Regions from separate parts of the Homo sapiens genome. Here regions 2 and 3 are each linked to region 1. Evidence: promoter capture Hi-C in 16 types of primary human blood cells and fetal thymus (Javierre and others, 2016). All regions are on one chromosome and are shown on one strand. Each heading gives the region's core, a stretch centred on a gene start or on the middle of the fragment in contact. The rest is flanking DNA. Distances are from core to core; before and after follow the strand shown. Region 1 holds the start of KCNAB1-AS1 (KCNAB1 antisense RNA 1). Region 2 overlaps LINC00880 (long intergenic non-protein coding RNA 880). Region 3 has its middle 11 kb from the start of LINC02029.

Region 1 (3,203 bases), core at 372-2,871:
TGGCCCAGTGTAGGTGGGGTCCACTTTCTACTCCTGAGGAGGAGTTGCCTCTCACAGACAGGACACATCCCCTCCTGCTGGAGAGGAACGGGGCAACAGCCTTCTAGACAGAAGAACTCTGTTTCTATGATTTTATTTTCCACTGTGCTCCACTCCAGAAGAACTAAGGTGACTTGTTAGTTAATATGATTCTCAAAAACCCTCTGTGACAGTTTTCTTAACCATTTTTCTCCCTCTAATGAGAACATGCTTTCCTGAGACCTAGAATGGCATACAATTATTTCACTGTGTAATCTCAAATTAGTGGGATGTTATTTACAAGATGATTTTACTAAACTGACAATTGTTATTTCTAACCTTTTAAAAGAAGGGAGAGTATAAAGATAACTCTTTGAACTATTTTGTGTCTTCTGATTAAACCCCTTTATGGACCAAGGAATATTTGCTTTGAAAACCTGTGTTAGGTTCCTTGGAGTAAATCTACCATAGCACAGAAAAATGATGGATGAAAGGTAAAAAGAAGAAAACTGCCCACCACACACATCTATCTTGGTTACCTCATTATCGTTTGGTGATTATCAGGGTAATTACTTCTTGCGTACTCATTCAAAAAACATGTTTACCATTTAAATGACTGCCTTGCTTGGAGTATAAAGGATATTTAGACATTTAGATGAGATCATTTTAATATCTTACATCACCATAGTGCAATTATCAAAACCAGGGAATTAACATGGGTACAGTACTAATACAATAGATCTTTTTGGAATTTCATTGTCTTTTTTTCTCTTCCAGGATCTTAAGCAGCATCCAACATTGCATTTAATTGTATGTTTTCTTAATCCACTCCAATATGTGACACTTCCTCAGTCTTTCCCTGTCTTTCATGATGTAGACACTTTTAAAAGTACTCATCAAGTATTCTGTAGAATGTCCCTTAATTTGGGTCTAAATCATCTTAAGGTTATAAAATTCTATAGTGCAGGTTGGTCTCCCTATGGTTTGAATATATTATTATAGCTATCAAGAAGAGAATATGTAAATGCAATTATAATATTAATATTTATTATGCCACAGTTAACATTTCCTCACTTTTTCATTCAACAAGTATTTATTGAGTCTACCGTGTGCCAGGTGTTGTACTTAGTTTATTGGGATGCAACAGTGAACAAAACTGGTAATTATTTCTCCCATCGTGAAACAGATATATGGGTAAAGAAAAAGGAATAACAAAAATAAGTTAAATATATAGTGTTTATAAATGTTAATTTTACAAATAAATAAAATGTAAAATAAAATACATAATGTTGACTGATGAATGTTAGAGAATCAATTTTATAAAGCAGGGATAGAGTATATGAAATGTCTAGGAATCAGTATTGAAATTTTAGATAGGGTGGCCAGATAAGATTCACTAAGAAAGGAGCTTTCAAGAAAAGACCTAAAGAAAGTGAAGGGGCTCACCAGGCGCTTATCTGGAGGGAGAGTGTTCCAGTTGCAGGGAGCAGTGAGGTAGGGGCTTGCTCAACATGAGCAAGGACAAGGAGGAAGCCAGTGTGGCCAGAGAAGAGAAGGTGAGGTTCATGGGGGCCAGATCATGTCATGTCAATCATAGGAAGGACCTAGGAAAGGCTAGTGAATAATTTTGAATACAGAAGTGACACAATCTGACTTTCTTTTAAAAGGAACACTCTGCTATTGTGCTAAGGATAGACTGCAGAGGCGAGGCTGAAACATGGGGGACCAGTTAGGAGGCTGTTCCCATAATCCAGGTGAGACATGACAGTGGTTTGGTCCAAGGTGGTGGTAGTGAGGATGGCGAGGAGTGGTTGAATTTTGGATAAATTTTGAAGGGGAAGCAATAGTATTTACTGGTGTAAAAGGATGTGTAGGGTGTGAGAGAAGGTGAAACCTCTAGGAGAACACCAAGGTCAGAGTATGGGGAGAATGGAGAGCCAATTCAACACATTTCAATATAGATTTAATGATTTTAAGTTTGGTAAACAGAGCACATGTGAACTGCAGCTTAATATAGTCAAGACTGACCAAATGTAGTCATAATTGAGAGACATTTCATCTATTTTGAGGTGTTAATCTGTTACGTCACTAAAGAATTTAAGATAAGAGGTTCAAACCCTAGGTCACATTGAAATTAAGCAATACACCAGGTAAAATTAACATGTTCAATGTCTCAGTTGTATAGTATAACCCCCAAAGAGGAGTGGAACTGGAGGTGGGAGCATCCCTCTAAATTGCGTATCCAGCAAGAAATAGGTGTAAGCCCAAAACTAGAGTTGATGTGGAGGAGGGAGCCCTAAGCTGTTGGCCACCACCTGAGATCCTTAAGCTCCAGGTCATTACCCTGGTGAGCATGTTCTCCTTTGAGCTATGGGCTGAGCCTTCCACTGAAAATCTAAACCTTCCCCATGCCTTTATGTCCAAATTCTACTTATTTTTCAGGACCCAGAACTCCAGCTTCAGAGTCCAGTGCTGCTAAGCCATAGTTTCTTAGCACTTCCCCTGGTGAGTTAAAGTATGTCTTGCTACATCATTAGAATTTTTTAGGTTCTCTTGCATTAACTCTGTGACTCTGAGAAACCTCCAATCTCTTGATTTCTTGTTTCCTTATGCACAAAATTAGGAACCTTGAGCTTCCTTCATCTCTATTATTTCATGATTCTATGGTTTCTTTGAAAGGAGAAGAAGTCATTCCATTTACTCTTCTCCTACCATTTTGAACTAACTGCTATTACCATATTGACCACACTATATTGTAACCGCATAGTTTATTTTTGGCTGTGACTTCCTCATTAGACTGCAACTATCCTGAGATCAGGGACTAAGTTTAAGTTTAATTTAAATTTTAAATTTTAGCCATTGCACTGGAGCCTGGCACAGGGTAAGTGAGTAATAATTGCTTGTTCAATCAGTAAGCATTCTCACCCTTACTAAGAAAGTGTCTCTAACCAGAGAGCATTTGTGGAACGTTGGTTGTTTTCCTCACTATCTTCAACAAGAGGTTTTTAACCACAACTGCGCATTTGAATATCCTGGGGGGATATAAATGGTATTGCTGACCTGATTCCTCACCACACCCCAGTGAAATCAGAATTTCTGGGAGTGGAATCCTGGCATCAGTATTTTTAAAAGATCCTCAGATAACTCTAATTGCAGTCAGGGTTGAGAACCACAGTTTATATTCT
Region 2 (3,203 bases), core at 249-2,748, 650 kb before region 1:
AATTATGTGACTCAGACACTAGAGGATGATGAGTTTATTTCCTTTATTATGATTAATACTTTTTTTCCCAAAGAGTTTTTCAATTCTGAGATTTAAGTTTTATATATTGTAAATATCAAGATATCCTTTATGAAACAATATTCTTTCCAAAAGACAGCATAAATTTTGGAGTAAAACTGATGACTATGTTTCCTTTTTCTAGACTTTAAATATCTCCTTTTACTTAGGGCTGATTTTAAAATCATGTGGATTTAAAAATTTATGTGGAAGTGTTTTGTGACATTGAAAATAAGAGTCTGTGAAGAAAAGCTGATGCTGCCATTACGATCTCTTTGTATCTGGAATAATTAACTTTTGTTTATTACAAAAACCTTTTTTAAAAATAGGCAATAAATTAATTGTGCAGTTCATCTTGGATTTAGGAGAAGTTGATTCTATGGTTTTTTTTTTCTTTCTTTTTGTAGAGACAGAGTCTTTCTCTGTCACTGGACTGCAGTGGTGCAATCATAGCTCACTGCAGCCCCTAACTCCTGGGCTCAAGCAATCCTCCTGCCTCAGCCTCTCAAGTAGCTGGGATTACAGGTGTGAGCTACCATGCCCAACAAGAAGGTGATTCTTAAAAAAGAGAAAATAATACACAGAGAAAAAGTAAAACAGTTATTGTCTTCACATCAATAAAAAGGGAGACTGAGCATTTCCTAAGTGGAACTATTTATAGCTTATACCAAGCTTTAAACTATACTAGATATTTAGTTGATTATATTTCCCAACTCTAATTATTAAAATTAATTTAATCAGTGTGGGAAGAAAATTTAAGAGGGAAAAATAAATCTGCTTTATGATTTTCAAAGTTAGTTTTCTACACTGATCGATGTATGAATAAGTGCTCAGGTGCCAATTCATTTCCTGCCATGGAGATACTGTGCTTTCTGAGTTTTAGAGAGTTAAACTCCAGAAGGCAATAGTGGTTCTATCTGTTGTGCCTGCCTACCCAACATTCATTACCCCATTTTTCTGCTCACAGCCTTTTGATTTTCTTTAGGGGAGCCACCTCTCACTCCACTTTCAGTTCATGACGCTAGGAATAGTTATGTGACCTGGGCTTGGCCAATCAGGGCTTGGTTCAGAGATGGGTACATTACCAAAGCTAAGCCAATGTGAGCCTGACTGGGATTTTGCAGGCACTATTAAGAAAGAGATTCTTTGCCCTTTGGTATGCTGATGCTTGGAGCTTCTACCTGAGAGTGAAACTAACACAAAGAAAGCTGACAGATGGTAAATTCAACTCATACTGCAACTTGGATGTGCCAATAAAATGTAATTTCTCTAGTTTGTCCATAACCAGTCTGGTCCTTCACTAGTTAGGGTTTAAATCTTGATTCAATCCAATAATTCAATATCCCCATTGAGAACATGCTCGCTTTCTCAGATGGCTTCCTCTTTCTCCTTCCCCTCCTATAAAGATGCCATCTGGATGCATGGCCAATATTCAACAGGTACATGGCATTATGGCTGCCCTCATTGATAAAATACTAAAGTATGCATGGAGCAGTTGGTAAACAGGTTCTGCCCTGAGGTCCCTGCTCCTCATAATCCATCAACTAAAGGGTTAACTCTGGACATAGTAAGACATCTCCATTTATACTCCTCAGCGCCTGAGCCTGTAAGGATTTTTAAATGTTTTGATCGTCATCCAGGTAGGGTGTGCTGGGGTGGAGGTAGTATGGTGGTGTGTGTCTTTTCTGTGTCCTCATGGTGTTGAGAGGAAGGGAACTTTTGTCCTTGTACTGGTCCTTGAGCATAGCTGCCTTGTATGTGATTATTTTGAGACAACATCCACTTTTTGTCTGTCCTGGGTGCACTGCAAGCCTCTGATGTGGGGGTCTGTGGATGGGGAGCTTGTGTCCATCTGAGGTGATCTGAAGCAGTGCTCCCAAAGGTGTTTCCTGACTGGCTTAGCTCCTTCTCTGCTTTTCCTGCTGCTACAGACTCCGACTTCTGTCCATGACTTCCTATCAACCCTGGTCCCAGGGGTCTCCTCGGCAGCCCAAACCACTGAGTCACCTCACTACAATGATCACCTCTGGCAAGCTGGCTACAGGCTTTCTGCTATGTCTGGGTAGAATCTAGCCTTCCCAGGGACCTGACAGAGCTTGAAAAGTCCATAGCAGGGCCTGCTGCTACCCGACCAACACTGGGCTCTTCCTCTCATAATTCTGGAGGGGGCGTGGGGGAACGATCTCCCTCTGCCTTTGTGGTTAAGCTTTACTTTTCCAATACAATCTCTCCACTCAGGCCTCTTGTTTATTCTGCTACTTCTGTCCTCTGATAATCCCCACTTTCTCCTGGTCTAGACCTTTCGAATATAAAACCCTAAGGTTTAGTCTACCAAGCTCAGTTCTTGACCCTCTGAAGAGGAAGGTAATGGAATGTACAGGATATTTTCTCAAGGTAAGGGCTTGAATTACATGGCTATTGCCTTGCTACAAAATTTATTTTTGAATGCCAGAAGCTGAGTGTTATGTTTTCTTTCTCTTTGCATACTTTCTGGAAAGAACTTTCATTTCTTCCTAGGCAGATAAATGCCTAGAGTAGACTAAGTTCATATGCTTTGAAAGGCAAAAGAGAAAACTACATTGATAATTTCAAAACATTATGCCTATCATACATGACAACACCTTTAAAGCACCTGAAATCTAACTGGGCCTAAAGCCAGTCTACCCAGTTTTTAGCAAACCCATGGATCCCGTGGTTAGAGCTGGGTTTCAGTCACTTGCTACCCATAGTCCTGACTGACATGGTAATAACAGTATCCATTTCACATTATTTGAATAGCACTGGGCACAGCTCCACATGCAAATGGGTCTGATTAAATGCATTTGATGGTAAGATTACTGCCAGGGTTAGATCCTGACACAGATAAACCTTGCTTAAAGAGCTCCCCAAGTCCATTTCTAAACCTCCCATGTACGTTTCTTCCTTTCCAGTGGTAGAAAAAAAATAACCAAGGAAGAGGATCCCTTCCTTTGGGTTATCTGGGGCCAGAATCCCCTCTTCTGTCACTCACCCTGTGGTGGTGCTGGGGGTTGTACTGAGACTCCAAGTTATTTCTCCTTGCTGACCCCTCCTGCTTCCCCTTTCCTATAAGCTCGTTCCAGTTTCCCATAGTTGCAAAAACAAAACACAACAAATAAAACAAAACG
Region 3 (3,203 bases), core at 205-2,704, 620 kb before region 1:
TTTGAATTTTTATGTCTAGAGGGAAAGCCTAACCTAGAAATTGCAAACCAGTCCACAAGTATGTTGTTTCATCTGCAGAGTGTTAAGCAAGCTTTGTTTTGTTTGTTTTTTAAATAAATTGCCAACATTTAAAACTGTAAGATTTTCCCATTAAACAAACCCTGAGCCAGGTGTGGTGCACACCTGTAGTCCCAGCCACTTGGGAGGCTGAGGTGGGAGGATCGTTTGAGCCCAGGAGTTCAAGGCTGCAGTGAGCCATGATTGCACCACTGCACTCCAGCCTGGGTAAGAGAGTGAGACCCTGTCTCAAAAACAAAAACAAAAAACCCCAAACCAAAACAAAAACCCAGGATTTTCAGTTTCTTTCAGAAAAATAAAAGCAGAATTCATAGCACAACTGGTGGGGTTTTCTACAGCCCACTGTGCCCACTCCTGGGCTGTTTGCTACCCTGGGCCAGCCACAGCCAAGGTACCTCCTGGTGTCACTTTCCCACCAGGAGGTCTAGAGTTTCAAGTAGCTCCTTCCTTCCTTCTTTCCTTCCTTCCTTCCTTCTTTCCTTCCTTCCTTCTTTCCTTCTTTTTCTTTCTCTCTCTCTCTTTCTTCCTTTCTTTCTCTCCTTCCTTCCTTCCTCCTCCTCCTTTTCTTTCTTTCTTTCTTTCTTTTTCTTCCTTCTTCCTTTCTTTCCCTTCCTCCCTCCCTTCTTCTCTCTTTTTTTCCTTTCTTTCTTTTCTTTTCTTTCTTTCTTTCTCTCTCTCCTCTCTCTCTCACTCCTCTCTCTCTCTGTCTCCTCTCTCTTCTCTCTCTCTCCTCTCTCTCTCACTCCTGTCTCTCTCACTCCTCTCTCTCTCCTCTCTCTCTCTCCTCTCTCTTCTCTCTCTCCTGTCCTGTCTCTTCTCTCTTCTTTCTCTTTCCTCTGTCATCTCTCTCTCTCTCTCTACTCTCTCTTCTCTCTTCTCTCTCTCTCTCCTCTCTCTTCTCTCTTCTCTTCTCTCTCTCTCTCTCTCTCTCTCACCCAGGCTGAAGTGCAGTGGTGTGATCTCAGCTCGCCGCAACCTCCACCTCCCAGGTTCAACTGATTCTTATGCTTCAGCTGCCCAGGTAGCTGGGATTACAGGTGTGCACCACCACGCCCGGCTAATTTTTGTATTTTTAGTAGAGATGAGGTTTTGCCATGTTGGCCAGGCTGGTCTCTAACTCTTGGCCTCAACTGATTTGCCTGCCTTGGCCTCCCAAAGTGCTGGAATTACAGGCATGAGCTACTGTTCCTGGCCTCAAGTAGCATCTTCCTAAAAAACATTAAACTTGTAAGGAAACAGCCAGTGCTTGAGACCAAACATGGGGTGTGTGGTTGCTTGCCCCTCAGCTTTGTTTTACCCTCGGGTAAGGCTCCTTGGCCCAGATGTGGGGGAACACTGCCTGGGTAGAGGGAGACTTTTTCTTGTGAAATGAGCACAGGATCCTTGCGAGGACTAAGTCAGATGACATATGTAAACACCTTGCAAGAGTCAACATTCAGGAAATGGTAGTTCTGAGCAGGGGCATCCCAGACCACTCAGGACATCACAAGATTCTGACAAGTAATCTGTACCTCCAACTCCAAGGAGCAATGGTCAGAGTTGGCACCACATCTGTTTGCCAGGATCAGCTTGAGGAAGAGGGTACCCCGTGAGACCACAGTTTCTGAGGAAAAGGACACAGGCCATGGGACTGGAACCCAAAGTGGAAACAGACCTTAAGTGCTAACATGGATGCCTTTTGCCTTTGGTTACTCACTCCTGTGTAACGACGAGTGTTAGAATGTCCAGGGAAATGTGCTGAGCAGAACTGTCTGTTTTAACAAGGCCACATGTAGCAGAGTCGTTTACCTGAATTTGCTCCAAAGAAGACATTACCAGTGATAGCCTGGTGCATTGGCCCCAAGGGCTCACTTCCAGAACAAATACACAACCAACTTCCTACAGAGAGCCCATGGCCAGGGGCCTGTAAACCTAAGGAGGCCTGGGCTTCTTTGGTGTGGGAGGGAAGCAGCTGCCAGGCACTGCTATGGGCCTGACTGGCATTATCGTCAAGGAAATCAGCAGTCCCCAGAAGCCATGCCTAGAAGTGATCTCACTGCTTTCTTCTCCCTGCCAAGGATTCTACGCAAGTCTGTTTTATAGGAAGTTGCCTTTCTTTTGAGCAGAAGAGGACCTCCCCTGTGTTGAGCAAAACGTGAGTAAATGATTACTGGCAGCTGTAAAAGGATCTCATAAAGCATTTCTGTGATCCCCCCAAAAGGACCTGATTTTTATACATTTGCCTTTTTAGTTCACTTTGCAAGTACAAGGCTGTTAAAGTCACTTAATGATGCCAGGGGTAAAGTTCACTTTAGGAAATGGGGTAGCCAAGGGTTTGGGATTTCCCCACACTGTTTCCTTCTCCATCTCATGAGCTGACAAAAGCAACTCTCTGAGTCCCATACCCAGGAACTTGTACTGAGAAAAATAATCCATATTTATTTGCTATTATAAACTAGGGTGGTCTTCAGAAAGAAAACCAGGGCTTTTTCCCGGGTGGGCCCTGCCCTGGAGTGGGGCAAATGATGTGGCAGTGAGCCCCATACTGGGGATGTTGAGAGGAAAAGGGTGCATTTTTGATGGGAAACAAGAGGTCATCTCAGTTCGAACTGTAACCAAGGCGGAGATTCTGAGCCAGGGTAGGAGAGTCCACAGGCTGCCCAGAGTCAGGGAAGTCTGGGTTGGAGCACATCTTGGTGGTCACTTACGGTCAAGATCCCCAGGGATATCCCCTGCCTGCCCACACCCAAGGGAAGCTTTTTCTCTGTTGAAATCCCGAATTTCCTACAGTGGCTCCAGTCTCCAGAGATTCCCTGGACAGATGCTCTCTCCAGATGAACTTTGTCCTCTGACTTACAACAATCACAACTGTTCCCCACATCTGCTTCCAGGAGATCTCACTGGCTGGGGTCACTCAATCAGTATAGAGATGAGAATCTGCCCTCCAATAAATCTTGAGCTTGGGTGGCTTCCTACTGCCCTTTAAGCCTGTATCCCTCTACCCCCAAGTCTACCTCCTTGATCTCTGGGCAATTGAGTCTGGACAATAGTTACTCTCTCACCTCCAAATCTCGAGTACTGCACCACTTAGCAAATGCATCAGGTTTAAAAATCCTGCCACTTAACGTAGGCTTATTTTCTGTCTA

The links. Contacts are between HindIII fragments. The CHiCAGO score rates a contact against its expected background, and 5 or more counts as called.
Region 2: a fragment that was not itself captured here is called in contact with the fragment with the promoter of KCNAB1-AS1 in region 1 in 1 of 17 cell types (non-activated CD4 T cells); the score reaches 5.4 in non-activated CD4 T cells.
Region 3: a contact is called between a fragment that was not itself captured here and the fragment with the promoter of KCNAB1-AS1 in region 1, in 3 of 17 cell types (naive CD4 T cells, monocytes and total CD4 T cells). The highest score is 6.1, in naive CD4 T cells.

What each region holds. Positions count from the first base shown.
Region 1 is chr3:156,445,354-156,448,556 of GRCh38, reverse strand. KCNAB1-AS1 (KCNAB1 antisense RNA 1) reads left to right here and starts at 1,621. Exons shown (of 3, transcript NR_046618.2): 1 at 1,621-1,772; 2 at 2,461-2,523. All of the region lies in intron 2 of KCNAB1 (potassium voltage-gated channel subfamily A regulatory beta subunit 1), which reads right to left. The HindIII fragment of the contact is 8,289 bases long and covers 1-3,203 here.
Region 2 is chr3:157,091,275-157,094,477 of GRCh38, reverse strand. The region is part of intron 3 of LINC00880 (long intergenic non-protein coding RNA 880); the gene reads left to right. The region is part of intron 1 of LINC00881 (long intergenic non-protein coding RNA 881); the gene reads right to left. Among named protein-coding and RNA genes, the nearest start is that of LINC00881, 3.0 kb to the right of the region's middle. The HindIII fragment of the contact is 1,534 bases long and covers 732-2,265 here.
Region 3 is chr3:157,069,603-157,072,805 of GRCh38, reverse strand. No RefSeq gene overlaps it. Among named protein-coding and RNA genes, the nearest start is that of LINC02029, 11 kb to the left of the region's middle. The HindIII fragment of the contact is 2,722 bases long and covers 94-2,815 here.